2 separate regions of the Homo sapiens genome follow, and region 1 is linked to region 2. Evidence: promoter capture Hi-C in 16 types of primary human blood cells and fetal thymus (Javierre and others, 2016). All regions are on one chromosome and are shown on one strand. The core of a region is centred on a gene start or on the middle of the fragment in contact, and the rest is flanking DNA. Distances in the headings are between cores, read along the strand shown. Region 1 overlaps LOC105372664 (a long non-coding RNA gene). Region 2 holds the start of SALL4 (spalt like transcription factor 4).

Evidence for each region. Contacts are between HindIII fragments. The CHiCAGO score rates a contact against its expected background, and 5 or more counts as called.
Region 1: a fragment that was not itself captured here is called in contact with the fragment with the promoter of SALL4 in region 2 in 1 of 17 cell types (erythroblasts); the score reaches 6.0 in erythroblasts.

What each region holds. Positions count from the first base shown.
Region 1 is chr20:52,086,714-52,092,085 of GRCh38, reverse strand. All of the region lies in intron 2 of LOC105372664 (a long non-coding RNA gene), which reads right to left. It also overlaps a transcript of ZFP64 not described here. Among named protein-coding and RNA genes, the nearest start is that of ZFP64, 100 kb to the left of the region's middle. The HindIII fragment of the contact is 2,497 bases long and covers 1,886-4,382 here.
Region 2 is chr20:51,801,174-51,806,268 of GRCh38, reverse strand. SALL4 (spalt like transcription factor 4) reads left to right here and starts at 3,748. Exons shown (of 4, transcript NM_020436.5): 1 at 3,748-3,990. The coding sequence starts at 3,861. RefSeq lists enhancers at 3,402-4,043, 4,687-5,095. The HindIII fragment of the contact is 4,794 bases long and covers 962-5,095 here.

The DNA of each region.
Region 1 (5,372 bases), core at 1,885-4,384, 290 kb before region 2:
GCACTTGATTTCAGCATTTTGTTAGAAGTGAACTTAAATCTACAAACTACTTTAAAGCCATTATAGACTATAGGTTTTTTGTTTGGTTTTGTTTTGAGACGGAGTTTCGCTCTTGTTGCCCAGGCTGGAATGCAATGGTGCAATCTTGGCTCACCGCAACCTCCACCTCCTGGGTTCAAGCGATTCTCCTGCCTCAGCTTCCCAAGTAGCTGGGATTACAGGCATGTGCCACCACGTCTAGCTAATTTTTTTGTATTTTTAGTAGAGACGGGGTTTCTCCATGTTGGTCAGGTTGGTCTCGAACTCCCAAGCTCAGGTGATCTGCCTGCCTTGGCTTCCCAAAGTGCTGGGATTACAGACGTGAGCCACCGCGCCCAGCCACGGCCATAGGTTTTGAAATAGGAAACTTATCTGTTTCTGGAGTTTGTAATCTAATTTTGACAAAAACTGTCCTAAAAGACATTCTAAAACTTCCAAGATGACATTTTTGAAAAACCATTTGTGAAGCCATGTTACACTCATAAAAGTTTGACTTTTATCTACATACTGAACTCTCTCATCCATATGAAATTTTTAATGGATTTCACCATGATTTCTATTTTGCCTGATGCTAAAATTGATATTCCTACTTTTTTTAAGCATTTTTCTAGAATTTCTATTGTGTTCCTATCACTTTGATTTAGGTATCTTCAGAGCATTTAGTGGCTTTTTTTCTTAATTTAACTTAAATATATTTTTAACTTTTATTAAAGTAGAGATGAGCTCTCCCTGTGTTGCCCAGGCTGGTCTCAACCTTCCGGCCTCAAGCAATCCTCCTGCCTTGGCCTCCCAGTGTGCTGGGATTACTGGCGTGAGCCACAGCACCTGACCTATAATTTAAATCTTTAAGAGGGAAATGTAATACGTTTTTGTTTATAATATTTACTTTGACATCTAGTTATCTGATATTTGATGTGATTTTTATTTTGTGCTGTTTGGTTTTTTCGTTTCATAGAGACAAGTTCTTGTTCTGCCACCTAGGCTAGAGTGCAGTGGTATGATCAGAGCTCACCTTCTGGGCTCATGTGATCCTCCCACCTGAGCCTCCCAAGTAGCTGGGACTACAAGGGTATACCACCACACGTAGCAAATCCTTTTTTTTTTTTTTTTTTTTTTTTTGGTAGAGTCAGGGTCTCACTGTGTTGCCCAGGCTGGTCTAGAACTTCTGGACTTAAGTGATCCTCTCAAAAGTGTTGGGATTACAGATGTGAGCCATTGTGCCCAACCAAGTCTGTCTCAAAAAAAAAAAAAAAAAAATCTTGCTCTGTCACCCAGGTTGGAGTGCAGTGGCACGATCTCGGCTCACTGCAACCTCCTCCTCCTGGGTTCAAGCCATTCTCCTGCCTCAGCCTCCCCAGTAGTTGGGATTACAGGTGTGCATCACCAAGCCCAGCTAATTTTTGTATTTTTAGTAGAGACAGGATTTCACCATGTTGGCCAGGCTGGTCTCGAACTCCTGACTTCATGATCTGCCCACCTTGGCCCCCCAAAGTGCTGGGATTACAGGTGTGAGCCACCATGCCCAGTCGCCCCAACCAAGTCTTTTGATGGTTGTTTTTCTCTTGTCTGAAAGCTATACTTTTTCCATTGTAGTATTTTCTCATATTGCCATCTTACCTTCACCATCACCCTTATTTTTTTTTCTGGTGTACAGTGTTTAAGTGTGATACCAAGTCATATATCAACTATCTTCTCCTCTCACTGAATGCTAATTCAAGTATAAGATTCTATTAAAACAGTTTCTCTAGAAAGTTGAAGATCCTGTTCCTGTCTTGCTAGCATCCACTGTTCTGAGGAGCTTTATGCTGATGTGAGCATTTTGCTGGTGGTTTTCTTTCTGGAAGCTTCCAGATCTCACCCTTCTTAGGGTTCTGAAATTGGACCACCCTGCTTCTAAATAAGATGCATGGCTGTCTTTAGTGTTGGGAAATAATTCTTCTCAGTTCTATCCTGGACCATCTAGAACGAGCTTTCGTGTCTTACCTTTTGGCGTCTTTTCCCCCTTGTCCTTTTGGGAGATTCTTTAGCTGTATCTTCCATTTCTAAGATTTTTCTTAATAGGTGGCTTTTTCTTTTTGTTTTGTTTTTATAAGAGCAGTTTTAGGTTCACAGCAAAAGTGAACCTAAAGACAAGAAGATACAGATATTTCCCACATGCTCCCTGCTCCTGCGCATGCACAGCCTTCCCCATTACCAACATTACATTTGAATAGTGCATTTTTACCATAGATGAACCTGCACTGACACAACATTCTCAACCAAAGACCATAGTTTACAGTAAGGTTCATTTTTTTTTTTTTTTTTTTGAGACAGTGTCTTGCTCTGTCACCCAGGCTAGAGTGCAGTGGCACGATCTGTGCTCACAACCTCAACCTCCTGGGCTCAGGTGATCTTCCCACCTCTGCCTCCCAAGTAGCTGGAACTACAGGCATGCACCACCACATCCAGCTAATATTTTGTATTTTTTGTGTAAAGACAGGGTTTTGCCATGTTGCCCAGTCTGGTCTCAAACTCCTGGGGTCAAGCGATCCACCCACCTCAGCCCCCCAAAGCACTGGAATTACAGGTGTGAGCCACCGCACCTGGCCAAGGTTCACTCTTGATGTTGTACATTCTGCGGTTGTGGACAAATGTATGATGACCTACATCCACCAATAGCTGTCATTCGACACCCTTTTTGCTGGTCAACTTATTAGAACTTTTATTTTGATTTCCATAGTTTTCATTTCTCTAATTTCATTTCCTCCCTTTGCTTTAGTAACTAAGTTCTTGACTTGGGCGTGTCTTTCTGGTTCTGGCTTTCCCCAAGCATTTGTTTATTGGGTAAACTAATTTTATTTGGATATGATCAGCCTGGAAGGGTTGGGCTAGGGGGTAGTGATGAAACATGGCTGGATGGAAGTGTTCTGGGTATGTGGTCTTCTGCTGTCCCTGGCATCTCTAACTTACCAGGCCCTTGTATTCTTTTTCTGACCTCAGCACCCTTTGACCAACAGCCTAGGGGGAGATGCCGTGCTGCTTGCTGTTTGGAAGAAGTGAGAGGAAGGGGTCCACCTGACCATTCTCCATGTGGTTCATGAAGCTGCCCAAGATCCCTACAGCTGCCACTTCTTATCCTGAGTACTTCTATAACCACTGCCATTTTTCCCAAACAGGGTTTGGCCTGTAATTTTCTCCATCAATCAGATTTTTATGTCATCTTTCCCTTAGGATTTCTGAACTATCAATGAATGATACACATTCTTGTTTCCCAATATGCTGATGTAGACTTCAGTATCTTTCTCTCTCAGTATTTGGACAGGAGGAGGCGGCACACCCATATGCCCAGGCTATCATCTTGGTCAAATCTTTGTAGCCATCTTGACCAAAAAACCTTTAACTTTGACTCCTTATGTGTTTGAAGGAGACAAACCGCACAAGTGTGAGTTCTGTGACAAGTGCTTCAGCCGGAAGGACAACCTGACCATGCACATGCGGTGCCACACCAGTGTGAAGCCACACAAGTGTCACCTGTGTGACTACGCTGCCGTGGACAGCAGTAGCCTCAAGAAGCACCTGCGGATCCACTCTGATGAGCGGCCGTACAAATGCCAGCTCTGCCCCTATGCCAGCCGCAACTCCAGCCAGCTCACCGTCCACCTGCGATCTCACACGGGTGAGTCCCTGACCAGGAAACCTCAATCCCTTACTTTTTCTCTAATTTCTTAACCTTCATTTACTTAACAACACAAGCAACTTAAATGACTTGGTGTGGTAGAAGTACAAGAATTTGGAACTTCTGTGATAATTGTGAGATTTGTCATTTTTCTGTTGCCGGAACAACAACTTTTGGTAAAATATGACTGACAGCTGGGTTTTATATCTTGACTATATAGAATCCAGCTGGGAGTAGATACCCACTATAACTGCCAAGAAGCCAATGATGTATCTCAAGTCAGACCTATAAACTAGATGTTTCAGTAAATGTATACACTGATTGCATGGCTAAATTTGGAATGTAGCAGGATCCATTAAGTATAATTAAAAATCACAAACTTTTAATCTTAGGAACTTCCTTTATGGGACCCTACTGAAATGATAGGACCAACTCATCGTGGCATGGAAAAATGGGGTTTGAGATATTCATAAAGATGCTCATAAGTTGAAAATTTTCAATGAATTCCTGGAAAATGGTGAGCAGACAGGAACATAGTGATGTTTAAAACTGAGTATAGAAAGCTGTGTCCCAGCAGACAAATGGGAGGCAGCTGTACAGTTGGAAGCCAAAGTTTCCAGCCAATATCCAAGGGCCCTGAGGGCTCTGGGCTTGGAACAAGCATGTAGACAGCCAGGGCCACAAAGCTTGGGGGACTAGCCAAGGCCTGGCAAAACTGCCCAACCAACCCAGTAGCAGGTGAAACCTCTGGCATCCATGTCTAATCATTAAACCAGTCTACTTTCCCAAATATAGTCCACCAAGGATCATGAGTCATCTATAGGAAATGAATGGAATAAAATGAGCCAAGTCAATAACTAATCCTGGAAGTAAGAGTACTTGGGTAATTTTCACATTCTAATTGGTGTCTACCCACTGGCAGAAATGTTGCATCCAAATAGAGACCTATGAAGAGATAATGAGAACAAAGAAGTATGAAATAAAACTAGGATTGCTAGCTATAAAATTAATGTCCCAGAGATTACGGGAAAAAAATTGGGTGAGTGAACTGAGAATAAGAGCCAGTCCTGAAGTCTGGTTTCTGACCAGGTCTAGGAAGAAAAGAAAATGGAAGTGAGAAGAAAATAGAGTGAAAATAGAAAATCAAATGAGAAATGAAGTCCACAATTCTAAGGGGCCAGGAGAGTAAAAGTGCTCACAGGATTCCAATCAGGATGGAAGGGAGTGGACAGGGGACATCTATATCTAGAAATATGTCTGGGTAGTATTGGCTTCTAGGAGACAATGGAACAGTGCCCTCAAGAGTTGGGAAATGATTTTGAACTTAGAATTCTATACCCAGCCAAACTATCTCAAGTATGAGAGCAAAATAGAATGATGTGCAAGGACTCAAGATTTTACTCCCAGCCACCATGCTAGTGGGAGTTACTAGAAGATAAACTCTAGCAAAGGAAGGGAGGAAACATCTGGCATGATATATTTGATATGTGAATACCTGAATATGGCTAACTGGGATTGCAGCAAAGAGAAATATCAGGCTGATACTTGTATAGAAAGTCAAGAGAAACTAAATCAGAAGTTTTAAAAATCCATTTTAAAAATTCCTTGTGAAAGGGCCGGGCGCGGTGGCTCAAGCCTGTAATCCCAGCACTTTGGGAGGCTGAGGCAGGCAGATCAC
Region 2 (5,095 bases), core at 2,499-4,998:
CTACCCTCACGGAGCCTGCAGTGTGAGAAATAAGCAATAAACAGATACATGAGAAAGTCTGTCATTATATATTTTGAAGTGCGCTATAAAAAGAAAGATATGGTTTCTTGAAGCCTGAGAGAACTAATAAATGAGACCTAGTTTGGAAGAGGGAAGGCTGGTTTAAGGAAGGGAAATTTGAAGAGATTATAGGCTTTTTAGGAGTGGGCCAGGTGAAGAGAGGCAAGCAGTGGAAAGGAAGACGATTCCTTGTAGAAAAGAGCAGAGGTGGGGTTTTCAGGGAAAGATCTGCCTTCCACTGAGACCTGTGCAAAGTTACTGAATCCATAATTTGGCATGCATTCGTTAGTACTCGCTAGGAGCTGATGGGAGCAATGAGCTTCTGTTTTTCCATAAATGAAGTAGAAATAAGCCGGACACGGTGGCTCACGTCTGTAATCCCAGCACTTTGGGAGGCTGAGGTGGGCCTCACTTGAGGTCAGGAGTTGGAGACAACTGGTGAACATGGTGAAACCCCATCTCTACTAAAAATACAAAAATTAGCCGAGTGTGGTGGCATGTGCTTATAGTCCCAGGTACTCAGGAGGCTGAGGCAGGAGAATCGCTTGAACCCAGGCAGAGGTTGCAATGAGCAGAGATCGTGCCACTGCATTCCAGCCTGGGTGACAAGAGTGGTCTGTCTCAAAAAAAAAAAAAAAAAAAAAAAGGAATTAAAAAAGGATATTAGTGAGGATAAAATGGGATTATGCATCCCAAATCTCCTTATAAACAATAAGACTGCTGAAAAATATACCAAGAAGTGTATTTTTTGAATATTCCTGCCTGGCACAAACATTGAACATGACTGGATTACATAAACATTGACAATGACTGGATTATATAAACCCAGTCACCTAACAAAGGACGTTAACATGAAAAAGTTTAATATCATCCTTTACTCTGAACATTTTCTTTTCAAGCTTGGGTCCCAACCAGGTCCTTTGGTTTAATAAATAACTTTTTTGTTGTTGTTTTTTCATGAGACAGAGTCTCACTCTGTCGCCCAGGTTGGAGTGCAGTAGCTAGATCTTGGCTCACTGCAACCACCGCCTCCTGGATTCAAGTGATTCTCCTCCGTCAGGCTCCTGAGTAGCTGGGATTACAGGCATGCGCCACCACAACCAGCTAATTTTTGTATTTTTAGTAGAGATGGAGTTTTACCGTGTTGGCCAGGCTAGTCTCGAACTCCTGACCTCTGGTGACCCGCCAGTCTTGGCCTCCCAGAGTGCTGGGATTACAGGCGTGAGACACTGTGCTCAGCCTGAAACAACTTTTGATTACGGACTTGCCTGTTGCTATGCCCTCCGTTCATCCCCTGCTTTGCTCTAGGACTTACTTTATTTTCCACCAACTGGCTCCTGGCTGCAGCTGTTAAACTGGGGGTAGATTCAAAACATGTACTGTGTCCTGCTTTTCTTGATATGACATTTGTGGAAGGTTTCCATTTGAGGGAAACTTCTTGACTTCATCTGTTGGAGTGATTTCTGAAGACCCAAGATTTTTCTAGGACACTTTAAATTTAGTTTACTGTACTCCGATTTTTCTTCTTTAGCTATCTTCTCTATATTCAGCTATAGTTGGAAGACAGGTATTAGGATGTGATAGAATTTTGGAGTCAGACTTAGAAACTGACCACCGGCTTAGAAACTGACCACCAGCTCAGCCAGTTTCTAATTAAGTCACTTCATGTCTTTGAGCCTCAGTTTCAAAATGGAGAGGACAATAGGGCCAACCTCCATGGGAAGATAAAACAAGGCGGTGTGCATTCATTTAATGCAGTCTGTGGCATGTACAAGGGGCTCAATCAATTATTATTATTACTATCACTTGGAGAGTCAAGCGGCACAATTTTGTCTCGTAGTAAGGCTAACATGTTACAACTATCATCTACTAAAATAAATATAAACAACTATATAAATGAAATTTTCCTTAACCCAATAGTATTTTTTGAGCCATAAACCCACTGCACATTCGTTTAGATTTGTAAGTTAGATCTCCTGCCACACTATCTTACACAGAAAAGGTGTTGAGAATATTAGTAGATTAGTCAGCAAGGCAGGTGCTAATTGGCCTTTTTACTCAGTATCAGAATTCTAAACTGCTTCTATGTATTATTAAACCAAATTCTTACCTTTTCAATCTGGCTGTTGGCTATAATTCTGTCTTACTTGCTTTAAATATTATACATAAAATAAGGCAAGACTTTTTCAGAGACTCAAAAATTGAAGGTTAATCTTCCTTCAACAAGTTTTTACTGATGGCCACGAATATAAAAAAGATGATCAAGCTGATTTATTTTCTGCCTTGGGTTGTCCAAATACCCAGGTGAACACATTGATGAGCCCAGCATTCCATTTTGCTTGTATTCCTGATGAGTTTACAAGCTGGGAACGTGATGAATAACTAATCAAGAGAATGCAATGCACAAATGTGGAGGGAGGGTTTATATCTGCACAGTCCCTTACAATGAAGTAAATGCCAAACAAAGACGCATGCCCAGAGCAGTTATGGAAAGACCAATCAAAGACTTAGCAGGTTGATGATTTCATCATTCATTTAACATTTATTGAGCATGTACATTGTGTAAAGCAGTTAGCCAAATTAAGTATACATGAATTTACGGTATAAATGTGTATACATGTAATATATCATATACACACACACAAGCCCCACTTTAAAAAATTCCAGGCATCATGTGTCAATGATACAATCACTTTGAACGATACACCTTTTCTGTAATAATGTGTGTATTGCACAAAAAAATTCCAATAGTGATTAGTAACAACCAGATACTGTGACAGTGCCCCATTGCCATTCCATGGGAGATGCAAGAGCATTGTCTCAGTAATAAAATATGATGTTATCAGGCATTTATGGCTCCTGGGGAAAAAAATGCAATTGCTTGCTGTTTTGATATTATCTCTGACTATGCTTGCTTATCATTTGCCATTTCTATATTTAGTAGCCAGTCATTTTGAAGTTAAAAAAAAATCAAGGTTTGCATTGTAACCACAAACCAGTCTTTGTGAACAGGAATCCTGGAGGCTATTAATCAGCTTTTAAAGGAGGTAAGTCATGGTGGTGGTGGGGTATCTGAAATTTTGGAAGTTCCGAGCTCACTTTAAGAGTTGAGATGGGTGGGAGGGCTGAAAACACCACCATTCATCATTCTTCAGTTATCTCGAGACTCAACTTAAACATTTTTAATCAAAAAGATGGGAGGGGACACGGGTCACATCTCAGGTTTGGGGGAATGTGTGTGCGTGTAGATGTGAAAACTGAGCCAAAATATTCCACTGTGAAGAGATCTCCCTTCTCGGCTGGTGGACATCAACCTTACCAAGTAATCTTTGGAGCAAGTAACTACCAAATAAAGCCGTTCCAAAACTTCTACGTAAGCTCCTACTTTTTAATGAGTACGCATTTCTCCCCATTTTCTTTTCCTCTCCAAGGACTGAGATAGCTGGAGCAAGGATGGGTCCCCCTCTGATTTCGTCCCCGCCCCAGCCAATCTGAGCCCGGATGCTAATTAGCTGCGCTCCCCTGATGAACACGCCTTTGTCACAAGTAGGCCCGGACTACAAAGCCCAGAATGCCTCACCCCTCCCTGATCAATGAGGGCTTATTTAAATGATCTCTGAGGTCTTGGACCCAGGCCAATCAGCTGTCAGGGCTCATGATAAATCGCAATGCATTATTGATAATAATAATTACTGGGACATGCGCGTTCCGGCCGAAGGGGGGTAAATTTCCCAACTCCAGGAATTTGTGGCGGAGAGGGCAAATAACTGCGGCTCTCCCGGCGCCCCGATGCTCGCACCATGTCGAGGCGCAAGCAGGCGAAACCCCAGCACATCAACTCGGAGGAGGACCAGGGCGAGCAGCAGCCGCAGCAGCAGACCCCGGAGTTTGCAGATGCGGCCCCAGCGGCGCCCGCGGCGGGGGAGCTGGGTGAGTGGGGCTGGGGCGCCCGCCCGGGGAGGGGAGCTTCCCGGACGTACGCGGGATCCTCGAGGGCGCAGGCTTCGGGGAGCGGGCGGCGTCCAGCGCAAATTCAGGAGCCGAGATTTGGGGGCTCAGTGCCCGGGAGGAGAGGTCTCCTCCTCTCCCCACCACCCCGCCTTTTGCACATTTCACACTTTTTTCCTCTTCTCCCCTCTTGTGTAAGTTTCACCCCCAGCTTTCTCCCCTAATTGTAAAATTGACCCCCACTCGCTCCTCTGTTCTCGCTCCCGAAAGGTTCCCTTCTCCTTGTCCTCTGCCCCTCACTTAATTGGTTCCACTCCCCTCACTGGTGTTACCCCCCCCCCTTGTAACTTAGGTCCCCCTCCCTCGCGTCGCTCTCAAAAGAAAGAACCCCGGGGGATCCCCACCCTCTCCACCAGCCCCTTGGGGCTTTTCTTGGAGGCTGGAGGAGGGGCGCACCCCTGGAAGACCCCCCGGAGGAGGACGATCTGTTGCACGCGCCCCTCCCGGGCCAAGTGGGGGGAGGGGGCGCGACCTCTCCCCACCCTCAGGAGCTGGGGTGCGGGCCACCCGCGCTGCGCAGGGGATTGGAGGGCCCAGAGAGGTGGGGGAGGAGGGCTCAATGTTTCCCTTTAAAATTTTTTTCTTTTCTGGATTTCGCCTTTTCTGCCCGGGCTGCGCCGCCTGCCGATCTTCGCCCTAACCTTTCGGGGCCTGACCTCCAGCCATCTTTGATTTCCGACTTCCTAAAAATAACCGCGGCAAGCCCGAGGGTGCGAGCCCCCAGTGGCCGGGGTGGCGGGCGCGCGGCAGCCCCACTGGGGTGCACCGGCCTCCCGTTTTGCGTGGCTTTTCTGGAGCGCTCGGCTTTCCACATTTGCGCTTGGGTGTGAAAGGGGAGAGGTGGGGGGCCAGAGCGAACTCCCGCGGCTGACCTGGCCCACGCTTCCGCGGCCAGCGTTTCCCAGATCGAGGGGAGTTCGGGACCCCAGCCGCGCCAGGAACGGCGGGGCCAACTCTGTTCCCACTTCATCACTTCACCGCGGAGGTTTTAGGAGCGAGGCGGTTTTCCACTATCTCGTCTCCATCC